3 separate regions of the Homo sapiens genome follow, and regions 1 and 3 are each linked to region 2. The links are contacts of gene promoters, found by promoter capture Hi-C in human tissues and cell types (Jung and others, 2019). All regions are on one chromosome and are shown on one strand. Each heading gives the region's core, a stretch centred on a gene start or on the middle of the fragment in contact. The rest is flanking DNA. Distances are from core to core; before and after follow the strand shown.

Region 1 (3,811 bases), core at 794-3,293, 520 kb before region 2:
TCTTTATCAGCAGTGTGAAAACAAACTAATACAAATAGGTATGTTAGTCAGCCTGAATGCGGTATTTTCTGAAGTATACATATATCAAAACATCAAGCTGTACATCTTAAATATATCTTATATAATTTTTACATCAATGATATCTCATTAAATCTGTTAAAAAAAGACATTCAGACTAGGTACTATTGGAATGTCCAATAAAGCCATGTCTATTTTTAAGTTCCAGGATTTTAAGTTCCATACACTGCAGAGTGTGTGGGTTTGTTACATAGGTAAACATGTACCATGGTGGTTTGCTGCACCTATCAGCTTATCACCTAGGTGTTAAGCCTGCATGCATTAACTATTTATCCTGATACTCTCCCTCCCCCGACACCCTCCCCGTGCTAGGCCCCAGTGTGTGTTGTTCCCCTGAGATGGTATCTCATTGTCCATGTGTTCTCAATGTTCAGCTCCCACATGAGTGAGAACGTGCAGTGTTTGGTTTTTCTGTTTCTGTGTTAGTTTGCTTAGGATAATGGCTTCCAGGTCCATCCATGTCCTGCGAAGGACATGATCTTGTTCCTTTTTATGGCTGCATAGTATTCCTTGGTATATATGTACCACATTTTCTTTAGCCAGTCTATCACTGATGGGCATCTGGGTTGATTCCATGTCTTTGCTACTGTGAATAGTGCTGCAATGAATATACGTGTGCATGTATCTTTCTAACAGAATGATTTATATTCCTTTGGGTATATATCCAGTAATGGGATTTCTGAGTCTAATGGTATTTCTGGTTGCAGGTCTTTGAGGAATTGCCACACTGTCTTCCACAATGGTTGAACCAATTTACATTCCCACCAACAGTGTAAAAGCATTCCTATTTCTCCACAGCCTCACCAGCATCTGTTGTTTCTTGACTTTTTAATAACTGTCATTCTGACTGGTGTGAGATGATATCTCAATGTGGTCTTGAACTGCATTTATCTAATGATCAGTGATATTGAGCTTTTTAAAATATGTTTGTCACCACTAAATGTCTTCTTTTCAGAAGTGTCTGTTCATGTCCTTCGCCCACTTTTTAATGGGGTTGTTTTTTTCTTGTAAATTTGTTTAAGTTCCTTGTACATTGTGGATATTAGACCTTTGTCAGGTGGATAGATGGTAAAAATTTTCTTCCATTCTGTAGGTTGTCTGTTCACTCTGATAACAGATTCTTTTGCTGTGTAGAAGATCTTTAGTTTAATTAGATCCCATTTGTCAATCTTTGCTTTTGTTGCAACTGCTTTTGATGTTTTTGTCATGAAATCTTTGCCCATGCCTATGTCCTGAATAGTATCACCTAGATTTTCTTCTAGGGTTTTTACAGTTTTGGGTTTTACATTTAAGTCTTTAATCCATCTTGAGTTAATTTTTGTATAAGGTGTAAAGAAAAGATCCAGTTTCAATTTTCTGCTTAAAAGCCATGTCTATTTTTTTAACGGATTTGTCTGAAGGACTGCTGGAATGTTGCTGGCATGACTCTTACTGTCCAAAGTGGTAAACTTTCAAAATACAGAAGACCAAAGATACTGTTGTGAGCAATGAATATCACTTTACAAGTGTGCCCATGGTAGTTAATACATTTTCAAAAATAATAAGCTGCTGCCAAGATTAGAAGCTATAAACAGCTTTAAAAAAAGACTTGGGCTGCCACATTATTCTGGTACTTATGTGTGAATACTATATGTCTTTTCTAGCTCTGAGAGTCAATTACTGCATTTATTACCGATATTGATTGGTAAGAAAAGGCTCATTTTTATTAGGGCTCTCTAAAACTATTGGCCCATTTCAAATAAAATATTTTGAAATAATTCTAGATTCACAAGAAGTCTCAAAACTAGTATAAAGAAGTCCTACATGCCCTTCACTCAGTTCCCCCAAAGGTTATATTTTACATAATCATAGTAATATTAAAACCAGGAAACTGACATTTGTGCAATGTGTGTGTGTAACTCTATGCCATTTTCTCACATGTTGATTAATCTGACCACCAACACAACCAAGATACAAAACTATTACATCCCCACAATAGTATCACTCATGTTCCTCTTTGTGATCACACCCAATTCCACCCCACCATAGCACCACCATACCTAATCCCTGGCAACGACTAATTTGTTCTCTACCTCTATAATTTGGTCATTTTGAAAGTGTTATATAAGCAGAATCACACCTTTTGAGATTGGCTTTTTTCACTAACATATGGCCCTTGAGTCCATCCAAGTTATTTCATGTACCAATCATTTTTTGCTTTTTATTACTGAGTAGCAGCCATGGTATGGATGTAAGACAGGATCATTTTTGTGAGATATCCAGTTGAATTCTGTGATCGATTAGTCTATATCAAAATACATACAGCTATATATATGTGTGTGTGTATGCATTCTAAATATAAGGAAACTGACCTTGGGGAAATGTTTTTAATCTTTACATCATTAGCCTTAAAAACAGTTAATTTCCAATAACACTATTGATTCAACCCATTACTCACATATCCAAAAATACACTGGGAGAAGTTGGCATTTTAAGCGGTATAAAACAGTGGTGAGCAGGAAATGGGCATTTAATTAGAACATCATCAGAGACTCCAAATAGCCATAAAATGATGATACAATGAATCCATAAATGCAAAGCTTCTGAGACTACAAAGACAAATAATGGAGGCTTTGCAAGAATGGTCTGGGGCTTCGGGTATGCAAACACACAATTCAGCTGCTGTTTCCATTCCCGAGACAGGCTCAGCTAAGGTTGTGACAAAATCATGACTCTAAAAGTCAGCAATAAAGATCTTAGGGAACTTTAGATCATGGCTTTTTTAAAGCTTCACTGAATTTACACAAACTCTGACCTAGCTGAAGTTGTCAGCAAAGATAAACAGTTCGGTAAACTCTACAAAGAAATGTACAGAAAAATCAGAAAATCAGCCTACTACACACAAAAATAAACTTGCTGGGCATGAATCCAAGAAAACCCACTCAGATTATCATAAAGATCACTGAAAACACTTTCTGTTTGTAAGGAGAAATATAATTGCTTGATACTTGGGAAGAGTTTTTCCATTCATAGCTCACCAAAGTGAGCAGATCCAATGGAAGTGATGATGGCACAGGATGGGCAGACCAAAGTTATTTATAAGGCTCAGGAACCAGGGCTTCATGGCCATCAACAGTAGTTCAGACAACATGCAACTACAAAATTAGACCTTCAAACAATGTCCATCAGAAATGTACTTCAATTACACCAGGGAATTTTGATACACAGCCCAGTTTAAACACCACATAAAACCATTCTTTTTTTTTTTTAAGTACTAAGTAAAAGTTGGACAAAGTATAGCTTTAGGAGTACTGGGATTTTGTTGGGTTCTTTTTTCATCAATGAGCTCACTGTGATGCTACTGCCATGAGGTGCTTCACATTTCCCCCCAGCATCTGATGTGGGCCTCATCACAGTATTTGCACAGACTACAGAAACAGCTCCTCCAAACCACAAAAGTCCCCAGGGAAATCCCGAGAACCTGACTGCAGTACCCTTTTTACCCAATGATCCACACATACTTGGCTAGTTTCATTTTTATCACCATCACTCACAGAAAGGCAGGTGCCTAATGATGTAGAGCGGTGTGCATGATGCATTGATGGGGGATTAGCAGAAACAACTCCTTCGCCTGGGGGAGCTGGCAATCAGGTGGAAATGTACATACTCAGGAGTAGATGGGATGTGCAGGAAGATTTCTGTGAATGCTGAGAGAAACTGACCCCTTGGTTCTTCAGTTTCCTTCTCAATATGT
Region 2 (3,799 bases), core at 163-2,662:
ATGACAATTAGCTAGGTAAGTCATCTATCTTTCTTCACATCCTCATTTACTCACTAGACATTCGTTAGTCTGTTCTTCTTAGTTAAATATTATTGTACTTCCAAGTCAAAGTCGAGGAAATAAGAATAAAGCTGATTTCTACAATAAATTTAATATTAATACCATTAATCTATTATTCTAACAATTCCAGAAGAATAGAAAGAGGTAGCCATTATTCACATTTTATGAATAAAAAAGGATGTTGAAAATATCTACATCATGCAGTGTTGCAGCTTTTCTGACATCCCATGGAGAATAATTATGTCATGATTCCGAAGTCCTATCTTGAAATTGTATCAGTGTTTCTAACTTTTATATGTAGTTTTTAGGTCAGCAGAAGGAAAGCAGAAAGGAAAATTATAGGAAGGAAACTTTCTAGACTGGGGATCTGAAAAGCAGACAAAACTCCTGTGTTCAAAAAGGAAAAGGAAGGAAACTTTTTTTTTTTAGCCTATGTGTCCCATACAGGATTCTTCTACACATCTTAAAGATGAGAAAACTGAGGGCTCACAGAGGTTAAGTTGTTCAGATTACGAGTGGCACAACCAAGTTTGAACCCAAGTATGCTTATGCTGAAAGGCTTCTCTTTTCAGAACACAAAACTACAAGTAAACACATTAATTAATTAATTAAATCAAGAAAATAGAGCTGCCAAAGTGAATCAGGGAACAGTTAATAATCCAATCTCCTTTTTAACTCAGACCATCAGTTGAGACACCAAAACCTCTAAAAATTCCTGCTATGCACCCCATAGCTAAGGCAGATGTCTTTTTTGGAGTTGATCCAGGAGAATTCGTTTGTGAGGAAGAGGAGGCCAGCCTCAGGGGCAGAGGACCAAAGGAGGGCAAAGGGTGTGGCGCGCGATAGGATGAGAAGGAATAGGAGGCGGGATCCTCTGCGCCGCTTCCGGGGTCTGCAGGCCGCAAGCCGCGGCCCCAGTAACCCCTCATCCCTGTGTCGGTCCCCATGCTTCTCACCACTGCTCTGCCCCTGCACACTGCCGCCGCCGCCACTGGAAAAGGGTTCCTCCGTGGGGCCTTCGTACGGGGTGGAGGTGGTGGGCACGCCGTAGGGCGGGCTCTTCTCGCCCCAGTGCAGGTTGCGGCTGCCGGGGATATCTGGGGGAGTCGTCACCCAGTGGCCCAGGTCCGACCCGGTGCTGAAGGACCTTGCAGGGAAGGCGCCGCCAAAGCCCTGCTCGTCCCGGGCACCACCCCGGTAGCCCAAGCCATCAAATCCGTCCGGGCGCCGCGGATGCATCGCAGCGGGGGCAGGATGACGCGAGCCCGCCCGGAGCCCACCACCACCGGGGCCACCACGACCTAAGCACACACAGCTTCCCGTCGGCCGCCGCCGCGTCAGGGGTAAATTCTGACAACCGGAAGTCACGTTGGAAACCCGGAAGTCTTCGGAGCACGTGATTATAGCCTCTTCCGGCAACCATTAAAGGGCACGGTTGCTAGGGAGACGCGGCGGTAACCTGGACCTTAAAAGTTTGTTGTCGTTAGGGAATAGGTGGGAATATGGTTGTGGGATTAATGAAACACAGTACCAAAGAGATTCCAGAAAGAGAACTGGTGTAGGAATAGGGCCTGCATGGGAGGAGTTCAAAGATGCTTCTTGGAGGGAGCCGATAACCCGCGGGTGGAGCCTACCCGGTGAGATCCCGGCCAGAAATACCCCATGTCACAGCTACGCCCCAGATCTCAGTGTTTTCTCACGGGCCTGGTGCCTCGCCTGCTCCGAGGAAGCTAGTAGAGGTTGGAGTTGTGGAGGGTTAATAACGTTCCACCTAGCTTTGTCTCCCGCACTTGGGGTTTTGGATCAAATCTATTGAGAGATATGGTACCGCCCAGTGAACGCGAAAGTACTGTGGACCACCAGAGCAAGCATTTTAAAAGTTGAAGTGCACGTCGGGGGTGAAAGAAACCCACGTACTCGAATACTGTCCTCCTGGAGTTAGAAATTACGCGTTTTCCTTTTCTAAGGCTGTAAAGAAACTATAGTTTTCTGTCGTATTTTTTTCTGATGTGTCTAAATCACTCAGGGTATTGAAATCCCAGTTATATCGTTCAAAATTGGGACCTCTAATTGAATAACTGAGAGGACTACTGTAGAGCGTCCCCTACTACCTGTTTTCATTAGCTCCACGGGCTCTTGGGCCAGGCTCCCTCCCCAGATCTGAGGAAGACTTCCATGGTTTCATCCTATGTTCCTTCAACTCGTTGGAAGCCCAGGATTCCTAGAGCTTTTCCAAGAGAACTCTGACGTGCAGTTCTCGATCTTCCAGATGCGAACCTTGATTGAGAGTGATAATCAACTTTGTTTTGATTGAACTGACATTTTTTTCTGTGGTTTTATCACTTTTTATTTTTTATGGGTGTATAGTAGGTGTATATATTTATGGGTTACATGAGATATTTTGATAGCGTACATTAAAATGTATAATTAACATTTTTAAATAACGAATTGACATTCTTAAATTTGATTGCGATGCAGCTTGGGCAAAGGTGTTGAGTCTCTTGACTGTATAAAATTTAAATGTCCATATAGTAAATTTTAAAATATATAGTAATCACAATTGAAAGGCAAATCACAAACAGAAAAATGACATTTTAACATGGTTTAAACAATGGAACAGTAGCTTTAATGTACAAAGAGTTCATACCAATGAATAAAGGCAAATCAGAAATATGAGCAAAGGACATGTAGAGGCAATTCATACAAAAAAAGGAAGTGTAAATAGATAATATCATATAAAAAGTCCTTTACTAATTGAAAAAAGGTAAATCTTAATTATCTTTCACGTATTAAGGTGTTTAAAAGGGAAAATGCACATTGTCTTTCCAGGTGAGAAGAAAGTAGCTTTCATTAATTTCTGAAGTGATATAAAACATAACTTTCTGATGGAGAGCAGTTTGGCACTATGTATCAAAAACTGTAAAAATAACCATATTTTTTGACTCCAAAATCTTAGAAAACAAATATAGGGGTTTTTTACATGTTTCTGGCATGGATAACATACATATGTTTATGGCATGCTTGCTCATAATAGGAAAAAAATAAGCAGGAATGCAAATATCAAATAATTATTATTGATTAATAATTTATTATTTAAAGTGTATATCCATACAGTTGTTTAACAAAAATATATTTATTAAGCACCTATCTCGTGTCAGATACTATTTTAAGCAATAAGGATAGAATGATAAATAAGCCAGACAAGGTGCTTGCATTGTTAGAACTGACATTCTAGTTTAGGGAGACAAAGAACAGATAAATATATCCTGTCAAATATAGTGCAATGTCAAATAATGACATGATTGTATTAAAAAAGCCTAAGTGAGCAATAAAGGAAGCTTTTTTTTTTTTTTTTTAGAATAAGGAAGTCCTCTCTGAAGAAGTGACCTTTGAGCAGAGAACTGAATGAAGTGAGGGAGTGAGCCATTTGTGAATATGTGGGAGAAGTTTTCCAGGCAGAGCTGAGCAAGAGAAACGCCCCGATAGCAAACTAGGTAGCCAGTGAGAAAGGGTGAAAGTGATAGGAAATGAGAGCTGAAAGGAGGCTAGGTGCCAGATCTTGCAAAGCCTTGTCGGTGGTGAACAAAATTTAGGTTTTTTGAGAGTAGAGGAGTAATGTGACTGTATTGATGTTTTATAGGAATCCACCTGGCTCTGTATGGGGAAGAGTAAAGGCTTCCACCTACTAAAGGCAAGCAGCTGAGGCAAAAAATAGTAATAATTTCATCTCGAGTGATAG
Region 3 (3,915 bases), core at 218-2,717, 890 kb after region 2:
TAGCAGTTTTTGTGTGTGTGTGTAAGATACAGAATGCATGTATACGCCTCATGTAAAAAGTGGGCTTGTGTCAAAGGACACACCAGGAATCTGCACTCAGTTATTATCTGGCTCCTTCAGATATGTATCTCTACCAACTCTTAGAATGTAAGAAGACCAATGATACCATGTATGATAACCAATTAAAAATATGTATTATAAAGGATCAAAGCCTCTCAATAGAAAGACTTGCAAAAATTAATCAGTGTCTATTGACTATTTTCTCTCACTTTCTGCGCATCACTTTCTCTCTTTTGGAATCCTCAAAGCCACACCTCTTTATCCCCATATCTCTATCATTTCTACTCCCTTCCTTCTTTCAGGTGGTAGCAGAATAGAAAGACCATGATTCAGAAAAGGACCTAAGTTTGAACCACAACTTCCCAACTTTGCAAACGTAGGCAACTTATCTAAACCTCTGAATCTGAGTTTCCACATCCGTTAAATCATAATGATGATGGAGACCTCTGCAAAATACATACTATTAGGAGAAGCAAATTATCTTTAAAAAGAAATCTTGACATGGAATTTTAGGTCTCCTGTTCTTCATCTGAAGATTTAGGAGATTCATCTTTTTATGTTGTTCTCACAAAACCCAAACTTAACTAATAGTCTGGTTGTTGAAAGAAAAAAGCTGAAAAGAAGACAGGGAGGTTTTAACTAGAGATTATACCACATCTGACCAACAGAAAAAGTATACAGTTGGAATTGAAACCTTTCAGAGTGGAAAAGAGTGTAAGCAATACATACCACTATTCAAACTCGAAACCCCTAATGACTGAGCAGAGAGCAGTGTCAAACGATGTTTGGCATCCTGGATATAGGCCATTGTGGTCATGGGATAGACATTTGCTTGAAGAGGCAATTTGCTCAGTGTCATTCTAGGTTGAATCTATAAAACACAACAATTCCATCTACAAAAAGTGATATTTACATATGTTCTTTTAAAAACTTGAGGACAGGTGATTTTTCTTCCCAAGAGAAAAAGACAAAGCTTCCTTTTTATTCAGTGGAAGAAATAATTTAAAAATTAAAACATTATTTAAAACAATATGAAGAAAAACCACAAGGATATTAGAAAACAACTTTTAGGTGGGAAAGGTAGAACTTGTCCAGATTTTTAAAATAGGCATTCCTATTTAAATTCAGAATAAAAATGCTTAAAAGTCTTCTAGCTCTCCAATATTTGCATAAAACAAATTATAAAGGTATTAAGTATTCATTTCTCATCTAAATCTAACAAACTGCTTTTGTAATGAATGCTAAGTATAATACCTCTCTATCCCCTTTCAAGAAATATCTCTTATTATTCTTGAATTGGTTTTAATAAATACCACAGGTCTCTGCACCAAATCTTCTAAGATATTATGTTAAAATCAAATGCATATTTATATTTAAAAACCATTCAGTGCTTACTCTTTTTGATTAGTTTCAATGTAGATAGTTCCAAATTCCAATTCCTTGCAGCCTAGTACCTGAATGTTTGAAATATGACTCTACTTTTTGAGAAAGACTGTCGGTAACCCCAAAGCCCATCTGGGTCACAGTGACTGACTCTAAGCTCAGAACCCTATTATCAGTGAATCTTAATGATACCACATAAAAATGTCATCTCCTCATTTAAACTCATGAAAGTTGGATATAAAAGTGAAGAAAAGAAGAGGTACAAAGTTACCGTAATAGTTAACATGTATTAAGTGCCCATTAACGAAAGGCATGGTCCGGAGTATTTCACAAATGTGATCTTTAATCTTCCCAGCAACCCTGCAATGTCTCCCTCAAATTACTGGTTGTACTAGGTTGAATAATGCCTCCCTCTCTCAAATTCCTGTCCACCCACAACCCATGAATGTGATCTTATTTTGAAATACAGCCTCTGCAGAAATAGATGAGGTCATTCTGGATTATGTTGGGACCTAACCTAATGACTGGCATCTTTACAAGAAGAGAGAAATTTGGACACAGACAGACAGATACAAGAGGCATAGGGAGAACGCTGTATGACAAAAGAGGTAGAGATGGGAGTGATGCATACACAAACCAAGGAATGCCAAGCATAGGCAACCACTAGAAGCTGGGAAAGGGCAAGGAAGGTTATTTCCCTATAGCTTTTGGAGGGAATATGGCCCTGCCAACACCCTGATGTTAGAAATCTAGTCTCCAGAACTGTGAAAGAATAAAGTTTTGTTGTTTTACGTGATTCCATTTGTATGGCAGCCTTGGGAAATTAATAAACTGATAAAGCTACAACTGTAAAATGTTTAAAGAAAAAAAAAAAAGTAAAGCTACCTTAAAAGAATTCTCTATTTCTCCTTTCCAAACCCAATTAACTTGTAAATGTAAACTTATTTTAAAAAATGTAAAACTACCACAATCGTGTTGTTGCTACCCCGATTCCCCACTGGTGGAGCTAGATACCTAGTTTTGCCCAAGTACTACTATATCCAAAGCTTAAAAAATGGTCAATTTTAAAAGCAGAAATATTACAGACTTAAAAGTAATATTTTCTTTTTTAGTCAAACGTTCCATCCTCAAAAAGAAAATTCACATTTTTAGTTATTCGGTTTTACTAAGTTTCTCATTCATGTCTACACCCAAAAATACAAATAACTGGTTTTGTATAATTTTAAGAAAATACTTTCTTTTGTACATAAAAAAATGAATCACCATGAAGTTGAGATTTTATCTGGAATCCAAATGGCTGTAGTCGAATTAACATGCTAATTCAGAATGTATGCTGCAATTTTTATGTTTTGGAAAAAGTTTAAATTTAACTTTTGCAGGAAATCATAGAAGAGAAAATTATTAAAATCTTTTTCACCCACCCCCAGTTGAAAATCAAAGTGTTTATTGTAAAATTATTTCTATTCACAGCCAGAAATTTCTAAAACACTTGTTTTAAAAACATGCTCATGGTTTTAATGGTATTTCAAAGATATGTTATCAAACACATACACTCAGAAAACAGAGATTTAGGTAACAATCAAAAGTGCTCTATTAAATTGGAGAATTGACAACCTGATAAGATTGTATAAATCAATTTCCTTACTACAATTTGAAACATTTCATGAAAATTTTGATTAAATATATACCTGCCCATTTCTGAATAGATATACCTATGTATATGTATACATGTGTGTCTGTGTATGTATAATGGTATACACACACACACATATAGAGGAAGAGTTTTCCTGAAATTTACAAGGGCCCATTATTAGATCATACATTAAACCAATATATAGGGAACAAACTTAATAGGTATGGATCAATTCCTTATGAGGACAACTAATATAGACTTTGTATCCCCACCCAAATCTCATCTTGAATTGTAATCCCCAGGTGTTGAGAGAGAGACCTGGTGGGCAGAGACTAGATCATGGGGGTGGTTCCCCCCATGGTGTTCTTTTGACAGTGAGGGAGATCTCACAAGATCTGATGGTTTTATAAATGGCAGTTCCCCTGGGCTTTTCTCTCTCTTGCCTGCAGCCATGTAAGACTTGTCTGCTTCCCCTTCCTCTACGATTGTAAGTTTCCTGAGGCTACCCCTCCAGTCATACAGAACTGTGAGTCAATTAAACCTCTTTCCTTTATAAATTACCCAGTCTTGGGTATTTCGCTATAGCAGTGTGAGAGTGGGCTAATACAAAAACAGACCGGGCACAGTGGCTCATGCCCACAATCCCAGCACTTTGAAAGGGCGAGGTGGGCAGATCACTTGAGTCCAAGAGTTCGAGACCAGCCTGGCCAACATGGTGAAACCGTGTCTCTGCTAAAAATACAAAAATTAGCTGGGTGTAGTGGTGTGCGCCTGTAGTGCCAGCTACTTGGGAGGCTGAGGCAGGAGAGTCGCTTGAACCTGGGAGTAAGAGGCTGCAG

The links. The method cuts DNA at HindIII sites, captures the fragments that hold promoters and counts their contacts. A contact is called where the count stands out against the background at its distance.
Region 1: a contact is called between a fragment that was not itself captured here and the fragment with the promoter of SLC25A46 in region 2, in 1 of the 25 tissues and cell types used here (mesenchymal stem cells).
Region 3: a fragment that was not itself captured here is called in contact with the fragment with the promoter of SLC25A46 in region 2 in 1 of the 25 tissues and cell types used here (dorsolateral prefrontal cortex).

Annotation. Positions count from the first base shown.
Region 1 is chr5:111,254,577-111,258,387 of GRCh38, reverse strand. All of the region lies in intron 1 of CAMK4 (calcium/calmodulin dependent protein kinase IV), which reads right to left. Among named protein-coding and RNA genes, the nearest start is that of CAMK4, 32 kb to the right of the region's middle. RefSeq lists enhancers at 3,200-3,249, 3,410-3,679. The HindIII fragment of the contact is 7,063 bases long and covers 1-3,811 here.
Region 2 is chr5:110,736,620-110,740,418 of GRCh38, reverse strand. It overlaps SLC25A46 (solute carrier family 25 member 46), which reads right to left and starts at 1,412. Exons shown (of 8, transcript NM_138773.4): 1 at 1,017-1,412. The coding sequence starts at 1,299. It also overlaps a transcript of TMEM232 not described here. RefSeq lists enhancers at 1-75, 1,320-1,389, 1,400-1,529, 1,780-1,829. The HindIII fragment of the contact is 7,779 bases long and covers 1-3,799 here.
Region 3 is chr5:109,842,881-109,846,795 of GRCh38, reverse strand. MAN2A1 (mannosidase alpha class 2A member 1) reads right to left here. Exons shown (of 22, transcript NM_002372.4): 18 at 790-931. Among named protein-coding and RNA genes, the nearest start is that of LINC01848, 38 kb to the left of the region's middle. The HindIII fragment of the contact is 5,832 bases long and covers 1-3,915 here.